Linked DNA regions of Homo sapiens: all the other regions are linked to region 1. Evidence: promoter capture Hi-C in human tissues and cell types (Jung and others, 2019). All regions are on one chromosome and are shown on one strand. Each heading gives the region's core, a stretch centred on a gene start or on the middle of the fragment in contact. The rest is flanking DNA. Distances are from core to core; before and after follow the strand shown. Region 1 overlaps LOC105374329 (a long non-coding RNA gene). Region 2 holds the start of DNAJC27 (DnaJ heat shock protein family (Hsp40) member C27). Region 3 holds the start of EFR3B (EFR3 homolog B).

What was found. Contacts are between HindIII fragments. The study calls those that stand out against the background at their distance.
Region 2: a contact is called between the fragment with the promoter of DNAJC27 here and a fragment that was not itself captured in region 1, in 1 of the 25 tissues and cell types used here (lymphoblastoid cells).
Region 3: the fragment with the promoter of EFR3B here is called in contact with a fragment that was not itself captured in region 1 in 1 of the 25 tissues and cell types used here (spleen).

What each region holds. Positions count from the first base shown.
Region 1 is chr2:24,420,323-24,424,083 of GRCh38, reverse strand. The region is part of intron 2 of LOC105374329 (a long non-coding RNA gene); the gene reads right to left. Among named protein-coding and RNA genes, the nearest start is that of ITSN2, 62 kb to the right of the region's middle. The HindIII fragment of the contact is 6,231 bases long and covers 1-3,761 here.
Region 2 is chr2:24,970,358-24,973,738 of GRCh38, reverse strand. DNAJC27 (DnaJ heat shock protein family (Hsp40) member C27) reads left to right here and starts at 1,784. Exons shown (of 7, transcript NM_016544.3): 1 at 1,784-1,921. The coding sequence starts at 1,835. DNAJC27-AS1 (DNAJC27 antisense RNA 1) reads right to left here and starts at 1,627. Exons shown (of 3, transcript NR_034113.1): 1 at 1,507-1,627. RefSeq lists enhancers at 735-1,252, 1,464-1,543, 1,253-1,771, 1,754-1,863, 2,124-2,233 and 2 more and a silencer at 1,994-2,073. The HindIII fragment of the contact is 11,912 bases long and covers 1-3,381 here.
Region 3 is chr2:25,039,709-25,043,407 of GRCh38, reverse strand. It overlaps EFR3B (EFR3 homolog B), which reads right to left and starts at 1,332. Exons shown (of 23, transcript NM_014971.2): 1 at 1,089-1,332. The coding sequence starts at 1,095. RefSeq lists silencers at 1-68, 399-528, 639-718, 849-1,468 and enhancers at 426-1,374, 1,375-2,324. The HindIII fragment of the contact is 5,946 bases long and covers 1-2,982 here.

The DNA of each region.
Region 1 (3,761 bases), core at 1,202-3,701:
GCATAATCGCTTGAATCCGGGAGGCAGAGGTTGCAGTGAGCCAAGGTTGTGCCACTGCACTCTAGCCTGGGGAACAGACTGAAACTCCATCTCAAAAAAAGAGAGAGAGAGAGAGAGAGAGAGAGAAGGCAGGAAAGGGGCAGAGAGAGCAAAAGAAGAGATGCAAAGGCTTCCATTCCATTGATTTTTCTCTTGATTGTCTAGCTCAGCACTGTCCAATAGAAATAGAATGCAAGCCATATATATAATTTTTAATTCCCTAATATCACATTAAAAAGGTATAAAAAGAATAAATAAAATCAATGTTAATAATGCATTTTATTAATGTGTTTTATTTAACCTAATATATTTAAAATATTGTCATTTCAACATACGGCACCAGCTACATTTCAAGTGCCCAATAGCTGCACATAGGTAGTGGGTACCGTATTGAAGAGCTCAACTCAATATCCCAGAACTCATTTCCTACAGCCCCCAGGGCCTCCCAGCACCCTGCTCTCTGATCACAGATTCCAATCACATTTCCCTCCATGATCCAGGGTTTCCCTGCCACACACACTCAACTCTCCCAACCAGATAGGAGAAATTTTACTGGCTTTTTTCATCTTATTTTTTCTCTGGCTCTAAACCAATATCTGACCTTTGGCAATGTGCTTCATTTCACCTGCTCTGGTGAGAGGTAGTGAGATTTTTTTTCCTCTTTCCCTGTTTCATCTTTGTCTGTCTGGCATTTGGCATACGGCCTGGCACATGTCACTGCCTCACAGGTGAGTGACTTTGGGGCATTTAAACAGGAGGGAGGTTCGGAAGACCCGGTGAGGGTAAAATCATGAAGATCAGGCTGTTTATACCAGGTGCCTTGATGAGCTACATCTTCACCTTTGGGATAAGTGCTCAAAGCCTTCAGGCTTTCCCCCTTGAGCTGGCTTCCCATGGGCAATGGTCAGGCCAGCTGTATGGCACAGAGCCTCCCACAAAGCTGGACTCAGCAATGTCTGAAAAACCCAACTGAATCGACTTCAGGCAGAAGAGACTAGCCAACTGTGGGGCCTGAGCTGAGACTCGGGCAGGAATACCTACTGGAAATTGGCCCAGGGAGGGAGCCACGCAGCTCTCTGAGTGAAGAGTGTTCTGTGCAGCAGGGGGACGTGTTTCTGCAGTTGGAGGAGCAGCTCGCTTAGAGGGAATATCGTCCTGGATATGGCCATGGCAGCAGCCATCTCACCAGGCCGGTTCCACACTATGGTTCTGAGAGTTGTTACTGGAAGCTCAGCTGAGAGCCTGTTCTTCCAGCCCTTCCAATGCTTATATGAGCTACTTAATAAATCCCTTTCTGCCTAAGCTAGTTAGTATAAACTTTATTGTTGAAACCAAGAATCTGACCCAACGTAATTAATTATAGTATCAGTCTTAGGGTTTTCCTTTATACTGTTAAGTGCACTTATATCTCTGTTATCTGAGGCAAGGGTCTGGGGAAATGGGCATGGTTACCAATGGGAATATAAATTGGTAAAATGTCTGGAAGGGTATGTTGGTAGTATTTATTTAAATTATAAAGGCACTTACCTTTTTAACCAGTATTCTAATTATAGGCATTTGTTCTGCAGATACACTTGCATATATAGAAGCTGAGTTATGTACAGTTGCAGCATTGTGTGTGAGAACAAAATATTTTAAATCACCTGAAAGCAACAAGAAGAAACTTTATCTTGATGAAATGACTAAGCTGCTTTTACCTGGAACTTTAATATATGTGAAGGAAGGCTGTCTTCTATGGTGATAATCCAATTAAGGTAAGAAGGAGATCCAAACCAATAGCTAGAGATTGCATATTGCAGGCACAGCTGGCAGGACTCAAACTGTCCAACACAAGTGGATACTCTGGGATGCAAAACCAAAATATCTGGCTTAGAACAAGCTTTTGTGCAGGCCAGTTATTGAGGCTCCCTTGGACCCCATTTGAGACCACAAAGGGGCAGGGGCACCAGGGTGAGGAAAGACTCTTGGCACCGTGATGACACAGCGTGGAGGGACAGCTATCAGTCATAAGCAGCCCTGCAGATGCTAGCCTCTCTCTGTAGAAGAGCAAAGGGTAAACCAGCTCACACAAGCACACATATGAATCCCTGCTGGGATCATGGGGACTCAGGTAGGGGTTTGCCACTCTGCTCTGGTGCCTCCCATAGCAAAGAGGCTGTCTAGGAGGCAGGGGCTCTAGGAGACGCTATTCATGTTGTATTCCACGTCAATGGCGCCCCCTGGAGAGAAGACAATTTGGATGTTGCCCATTGGAAATAGTGTGTGTCAACCCTGCAGGAAAAGTGCCCTCATTCAAAGGTGAGAAGTAACTAAAAGAGAAACAGCACACAAATCTTTAGGAAAATACAAGAAGGAGAAAGGAGGAAATCAATAGGGAAACAACTGGCAGGTAAAGAATACAGAAACATCTTGCCTCAAAACTGGTGAAAATCATGACCAAATACAGTAGTCCCCTGCCCTTATCCACAGAGGATACGTTCCAAGACCCCCAGTGGATGCCCAAAACCACATTTAGTACCAAACCCTATATACTATGTTTTTTTCCTATATGTGCTTTTTTTTTTTTTTTTCCTGAGGCAGAGTCTCACTTTGTTGCCCAGGCTGGAGTGCAGTGGCGTGAACTCTGCTCACTGTAACCTCCACTTCCTGGGTTCAAGCCATTCTCCTGCCTCATCCTCCCAAGTAGCTGGGACTACAGGCATGCACCACCATGCCCGGCTAATATTTGTACTTTTAGTAGAGAGGGGGTTTCACCGTGTTGGTCAGGCTGGTCTTAAACACCTGGGCTCAAGTGATTCACTCGCCTCAGCCTCCCAAAGTGCTGGGATTACAGGTGTGAGCCACCGTGCCTGGCCCCCTATATGTGCATGTCTATTTGATAAAGTTTAATTTCTAAATTAGGCACAGTAAGGCTGGGCTCAGTGGCTCACACCTGTAATCCCAGCACTTTGGGAGGTTAAGGCAGGAGGATCACTCAAGCTCAGGAGTTCCAGAGTAGCCTGGGAAACATAGCAAAACTTTGCCTCTACAAAAAGTAATATTAGTCAGCATTGTGGTGCATGCGTGTAGTCCAAGCTGCTTGGGAGGCTGAGATGGGAGAATCACTTAAGCCCAGGAGGTTGAGGCTGCAGTAAGCCATCATGGAGCCTCTGCACTCCAGCTTAGGTGACAGAATAAGACCCCATCTCAAAAAATAATTATCATCATGAAAAATTAGGCACAGTAAGAAATTAATGACAATAACTACTAATAAAATAGGACAAATTAAATAAAGTAATATAATGAAAGTTATGTGAATATGATTTCTCTCTCTGCATTGCACCTATTTTTGGACCCTGGTAACTGAAATTGAGAAAAGTAAAACTGTGAGACTACCATAAATCTCCATAAACTCTAGGAACTAAAGTAAAAATAATCTCTATATAACAAGCACTCAAAGCAGAGATACAAGAGTTCAAGGAAAAAAATGACAAAGCAACTGAAGATGAAAAATGAGCTGGCACTAATGTTTTCTTTGAGGTAGAATTACATAAAGTCTTAGATGTACAGTCTGATGGATTTTTTTTTTCAAGTAACCATACCCATGTAACTACCACTCTGCTACAGATATGGAACATTCTCCGCATCCAAGAAGACTCCTTCCTGCCCCCTTCCAGTCAAAAGTAATTGCTGTTTTGATCTCTATCATCCACCATAAATTAGTTTTGCCTATTGTTGAATGT
Region 2 (3,381 bases), core at 535-3,034, 550 kb before region 1:
CCCAACACTTTGGGAGGCAAAGGCAGGAGGGTCACCTGAGGTCAGGAGTTCGAGACCAGCCTGGCCAATATGGTGAAACCCCGTCTCTACTAAAAATACAAAAATTATCTGCGTATACCGGTGGGTGCCTGTAATCCCAGCTACTCGGGTGGCTGAGGCAGGTGAATTGCTTGAACCCGGGACACAGGGGTTGCAGTGAGCAGAGATTGTGCCACTGCACTCTAGCCTGGGCAACAAGAGGGAAACTCTGTCTCAAAAACAAAAACAAAAACAAAAAAAACCCCATCAATATGAAAAAAATAGTAATCAATTTAAATCTGTGGCATGTTTTACTGCTTAGTCTCAACAGCACCATACTTAATCAATCATAACAGCTGAAGATTTGACATTTTATAATTATTCTTCCACAATACCAGTTACCCTATTACAGGGCCAAAGGTGAACTGTCGAAGAAATTACATGTTTAGTAATTTGATTTATTAAATCATACTGAGAAGTTAGCATGTGGATTCTTTTAAGCTTTAAAACTATCCAAATTCTAACCAGGACTTATATTTCATATTTGTAAATAATTTTAGAAGCTTCAGTGAATTAAGTTATATTATTTGATTATCAAAACAATCCAGAATAAACTTGTCTTAAAAAAAACTTAATGTTTAAAAAACACATTTTAAAATTAAAATGTGGAAAATCTGACTTTACTGTGAAATGTTGAGCCTTTGCTCATTGCCTTCCTGTAATGCACTTCCCTTAAGATGTTTAAAGTTAGGTGAGAAAAGAAGCAATGCTACTTTTGTCTTTGTAATATACAGGGAAATTGGCAGCCATTTTTTTTCAGGGCACTATAAATAATCATTGTCAAGTTCTATTTATCTTCTGTAACTGAAGATATTCACTGAAAAAAAATTACCGTTCCTGTCAGACTGACTTTTATTCAAGCACTGTCACATTGTCAGCTAAAGGGAAGGGGAGAGCAGACGTCGAGGTCACGTTCGAAGCGAACAGCGGGGAGCTGAGGAAACTGACGTCCACAGCTCCAGCCTGGCTTAGCGTTAACACCTGCAGTAGACCAAGCCTTTCTCCCACAGAGGAGTCAACAAATCCATCAGAGATCTGTAATAGGAGGGCCAAGACTAAACACTCTTGCCTTGACTCCAAATAGACAACTCCATTTAAAATAAAAAACAATAGGAACCAGATTCAGAATCGCTTCACGCCTTGCCCAAGGCCCTCTTCCAGAACCAGGGTTCCGACCTCCCCACTTTCCTGGCTTTGGGGTCTGCCTCTCGGGGATCTCGAGCAAGGGGAACAAAATATTGGAGGGGGAAGAGGAGCAGCAGCCCGGCCCATGGAACCGAAAAAGAATCCAGAAAAAAAAAAAAACACTCCCAAACGGACGAGACACTACCAGACCCGCCCTGAAGAGCCAATACATTTCCACCACTCGGCTGCGAAAGCAACAAACGCCTCCCGTCCGGGCGTCCCTGAAAACAAGGACGCGCTCACCTCGAAGGGTAAACCCAGCCGCCCCCCAACGCCGCCTTCCCGTCAGGGGACGAGGCCTTAGAAACTCGGTAACTGCAGTCGCGTCTCCAGGGCCTGCAGATGACGTCAGCAGCCCCGCGCTAGCATCGCGAGACTCCCGTCTCCCTCCCCCGGCTCCCCACGCTCCCAACCGCCCGCGCCTGCTGCCAGGCAGCGGCGGGGATGGCGAGCAGCGGAGGCGAGGCGGTGACGAGAGCAGCGGCTCCGCCATTGGACGAGGAGGCCTGAGGGACGGGCCAGCGGTGCACAAGAAGAGACCGAGGCGGGTGGCCCCGAGAGAGCCAGGGCCATGGAGGCCAACATGCCGAAGCGGAAGGAGCCCGGCAGGTCTCTCCGCATCAAAGTCATCTCCATGGGCAACGCCGAAGTGGGGAAAGTGAGTACAGCGAGCCGGGAGGGGCGGGCCCCAGCGTGGCGGGGCGACGTGTCCATTGGCTGGAAGGGCGGCCACTCAACAGCCTGGGGCCCGGCCTCCTCTCCGCCCCCGAGCAGGCCCGGGTCTCAGCCGAGGGGTGCGGCTCCGCGAACGAAACTCCCCGACCTTTTTGACCTTTCCGTTGCCCCCTCGTCCTCCGACGTCACTCTTCCGGAGATGGTGTCTGGGGTGGCCTCTAAGCCTTGAATGTACCCCCAAAAGAGTAAGAAGGCCTGGGTCCCCATGAGGGGCCGTCGGCCTAGATACCTTGCCCGCGTTCTAGGGGGCCGTCCGGGACCGGGAGATGGAGGATGAAAGTTTAGTTCCCCCAGCCGGGCCTGGGAGCCGGCGGAACGTTATGGGGTGCGTGTGAGAATTTGGGGTTCGCGAAATGGTGCCCGGCAGCCCAGATTCTGCATTCCCGTCACGAGAGAGCGTAACTGACGTTGACGTGTTTCACAGGGGAGGTGCAAGGGATGGCCGGGGTCCGCGCTGTTTTGTTTTGCGTTGTGTTTTATTTTTGGTGGTGTCCCCATATCTGTTAGTTCCACCGCCCTTCTCTCTGCCCCATCTGTGGTTCATCAGCTATAAACTCTCCTTTAGTACGTGGGGAGGGAAGGCCAGAGGTAACCTGAGGCCTTTTCCCTTATGAATTCCAAGACGGCCTCCTCTTCACTCAAATTCTTTCCTTTTGGGCAAGTGGAATCTGTTGGTTAAGAACTTCCCAAGGTCATCAAATCAGTGACCGAGGAAAGATTAGAACCTAAGTCTTCACATTCCCACTGCGGTGCTCTTTCCGTCGTTGTATGCGTTCAAAATCAACTCCGAAAGAGCTGTTAAGGCAGTGCCTAGTCCAGTGCCTGGCACCCAGGAGATGCTCAGTAAATGTTTACTTAGTGTTTTTTATTTCTGTGTAGCATGATCCCGTACTACTTTTGTGTGTATGTGCTAGCATAGTATTCACTGAAAGTCAACATTTTTTTGAACGTCAGCTGTGTACGAGGTGTTTTTTTTTTTCTAGGGACTGGGCACGCTAGCTCAGGCCTGTAATACATCAGCACTTTGGGAGGACGAGGCGGGCGGATCACTTGAGGTCAGGAGTTCAAGACCAGCATAGTGAAATCCTGTCTCTACTAAAAATGCAAAATTAGCCAGGCATGGTGGTGCACGCCTTTAATCCCAGCTACTTGGGAGGCCGAGGCGGGAGAATCGCTTAAGCCGGGGAGGCAGAGGCTGCAGTGAGCCGAGATCACGCCATTGCACTCCAGCCTGGGCGGCAGAGTGAGACGCCGTCTCAAAAAAAAAAAAAAAAAAAAAAGTAATTTTACTGTGCCTAATGATACAACATTAGAAGCAGCTCAGAATGCCCAGTGTCACCACATCTACTTAACATTTTTCTAGTTTTATTAGCCAGTGCAATT
Region 3 (3,699 bases), core at 83-2,582, 620 kb before region 1:
GTCTGTTCGCGGAGCGAGGCAGCTGAGCAGCCGAGCAGCCTCAGTGATGGGTTAAATTGGGAACGCACTCTTCTCCAAACACTGACCCCTCAAGTGCAGCCTGAGCCCCTACCTTGCAGTGGGGGTGGGAGGTGAGCACAGCTCCAATTATTTTGCTGGCACTAGAAGAGCTGCCAGAGACCTGGGTTTTCATGGACTTATGTCTACCGGGATCACACACACACGCACAGCCCTTGGTGGGCTGCAGGCTCAGGAATGCAGTCCATTCCTAGACTGGTCTAGGTCTCCAGTGCTCCATTCATCAGAGCTGCAATGTGGGACCCAACGCGCTCTCTCTTCTTCACCCACACTGCCTGCAAAACCAGAGGGAGTCCTAGCAAATGATCAAGCAGAGCCGTGCATCGTGAGGGTCTGGCTAACTGTTGCACGGCAGTTGAGGGGATGGCGGTGGAGGCGGGGAGAGGTCAGGGCTGTGCTGCACCCTCTCAGCAGCGTCTCCTCCCTTCATCACTGCGGAGGGAAAATCTGGAAGTTGGTGAACCTGGATCCCGCGGGGCGGCAGGGGCAGGCAGAGGCCGAGTCCATTCAGGCGGGCGAGACGAGACTCGGCCACTGGCTGCTCCCCGGGCCTCTGCGCCGCCGGCGCCGCCTCCCGCCTTCTCCGAGCCGCGCAGACGACCGGCCGCGGGCGTCTCCCTCAGCCCTGGACCGGCTTCCCACAGAAAACTCCCAGGCACAAACCGCTTTTGTTAATTCCGCAAATGCTGCCACACGACCACCTCCTCCAGCACTCCCGGTCTGCTCGGCTCCGGGAGACCCGCTTTCCCCTGAGCCTCCGCCCCCCGAAGGACCACCGCCCAGCACCGGCACGCGCCGGGCCTGGAGAGGACCCCAGGGTCCCCGGCCCGAGGCATCTTTGTCCTCGCAGCGCAGACGCGCGCGCACAGAGCGACCGCAACAGCCCCGCCGGGCACCAGGTCAGCGGCCTGGCCCCGCGCCAGGGCCGTGCAGGGGGACAATGGTCCGCGCCGGGGAAGTTTGCGGAGTCGCCCCCGCGGGCCCGGGCCCGGGCGCGGAGCCCTCCTTACCGTACATCTCGGCGGGGCGCGCGCCTCTCGAGAGGCCGGCGTCGCTGCGGCGTTCCCAGCCAGCCCTCGGCGGCGCCCGCCTTTCATTCACAGTCGGGGCGGGGACTGGCGGCGGCCGACAGGGGCCCGGGCGGGGAGGGAGCAGACGCGGGGGCCGGCCGCGGGCAGGACGGAGCCGGGCGCCGCCAGCCCATTCAGCGCCGGGCTGCAGCGGCCGCCTCCGCTCGGGTTGCTGGGCACTGCTGCGCGCAGGGGGCGGGGGCTATGCTAATACTAATGCTCCTCCCTCCCGGCTCGGCCAACCCGAGGCCTCTGCGAGCCCCTCGCCCCGCCCCGCCCCTGCGCCCCGCCCCCGAGAAACCCACAGCCGGAGATGCGCCTTTTCCGAGGCTGTCGCCCTAAGGGCCGCAGCGTGCACCTGCGGAGCTACCCACCCCAACTCCCTGCTCCTGTCGGAGCGCTCGGAAGCTCTCCCTAACCTGGGGTCCTCGAGGTCAGCCGGGGCGCTGAGAGCTGCAGGTGCACCCCTCCTCCAGTTCTGTCCAGGCTGCGTGGGCTAAGCCGGGGGGCGCAAGGATGGGAATTGGGGAATGACTTCCACCCTCTCCTGGCTAGGTACCTTAGCTGAGCGCCGTTCTCTGATGAAGCCCTCCAGCCCTCAGCTGCGCCCTACCAGCTACTCTCTGGCTAGGTGCCCAGCCACTCTCTGGCTAGGTGCTTGCTACCACCAAACAGCGTCCTTCCCGGGTCAGGGACGCAGGAAACGCACCCCACTCCCAACCCCCAAGGGCTGCAGGAAGTCCGCTTGCTTTTCCTCTCCCTGATTTATATGTGTAATTCGCAAGCTTTGCCGCCAGGATCCTCTCCAGCTGAGCCCCAGCGCCGACTTGAATTCCAGCTCTGCACCTGCCGTGACCCTATGAGGAACAGGCACAGAGAGGCAGCGGCTCATGCCTACGCCCACACCTGAAGATCTCTCCTAAGCTAGCTCAGGACTTCCCTGGGCTTCTCATCCAGCCTTCTTTACATTGCACACGTTCCCGTCTTTTTTTTTTTTTTTTTTTTTTTTTTTTTTTTTTTTGACATGGAGTCTCACTCTCGCCCAGGGTGGAGTACAGTGGCACTATCTCGGCTCCCTGCAAACTCCGCCTCCTGGGTTCAAGCGATTCTTCCACCTCAGCCTCCAGAGTAGCTGGGACTACAGGTGCGTGCCACCACGCCCGGCTAATTTTTGTATTTTTTGGTAGAGAAGGGATTTCACCATGTTGGCCAGGCTGGTCTGGAACTCCTGACCTCAAGTGATCCGCCCGCCTCGGCCTCCCAAAGTGCTGAGATTACAGGCCTGAGCCACTTCTCCTGCCCCTCCTGGCCTTTCAATATCGATTTCTTAGTTTCTCTTGGCCCATGGTTGAGAGTTGTTTGGGTTTTCTTTTGTTTTTTTCTACTGGTAGAAATATTCTACTAGTAGAAGTTAGAGAGGAAAGGAACTTAAAGATACTTAAGAACTGAACTTCATTTTACTTCATTTAACGTTGAGAGGTTAATTTATGTTGTTAGGCTGGGCTGTGTGTCTGTAGGCCAATGATCTACTCTCTCAACCCCAGCTTCCTGCAGGACTGTTGGGAAACTGGAATAAAATCTACATGAAATGACACAGTGGGCACTCATGTATATTTTTTCCTTCCTTCATGGCTCAAGGCAGGAACAGAGCCAGAGAAAGAATCCAGGTTGCCAGACTCTTGAAACAGTGCTCAGTCTGTTGCACTCAAAACTTATGTTTCCTATTTTTCTCTGGCCTGGGCCTCCACCTCCCGCCCGCGCCCCACTCTCTTGCTGTTTCCAGGTTTTCTTCTTCTTCCTTGACCTCTTTGACTCTCTTAGCAGCATGCCAGCCCCAAGGGAAACCCTGGGATGGTTCCTGGAACACACATTTAGTCTAGACCCCCCTACCCCGGGCACACACTCCCTGCATCTCACAAATAACCTCTGTCTCTGTTCTTCAGTTCCAGGACCAGGCCAGGTGGCTTTAAGATTGACTGAGAGTCAGACTTGAACTGGAGCAGGAAGGAGAATCTCAGCTCTAGCTTGATATGATCACCCAGAGACACTCCCTTCCCACAATTCTGCTCAACACAAAATATACTCATGAAACATTGGTGTCTACAGTACAGAAGGAAATGCAGTGTCTGTCTTCAAAGAATGAAAGGTCTAGCAGGGAATTCCAGATGAATACTGATAAAAACATTACTTGAGGCCAGACGTGGTGGCTCACACCTGTAATCCCAGCACTTTGGGAGGCCAAGGCAGGTGGATCACCTGTGATCAGGAGTTCAAGACCAGCCTGGCCAACATGGTGAAACCACATCTCTACTAAAAATACAAAAATTAGCCGGGCATGGTGGTGCATGCCTGTAGTCCCAGCTACTCGGGAGGCTGAGGCAGGAGAATCGCTTGAGCCTGGGAGGCGGAGATTTCAGTGAGCTGAGATTGTGCCTCTGCACTCCAGCCTGGGCGACAGAGTGAGACACTGTCTCAAAAAAAAAAAAAAAAAAAAAAAAAAAATTACTGGGCAGGAAAAAAACATAGTCAATTCTGCATGAGAAGTACAGAC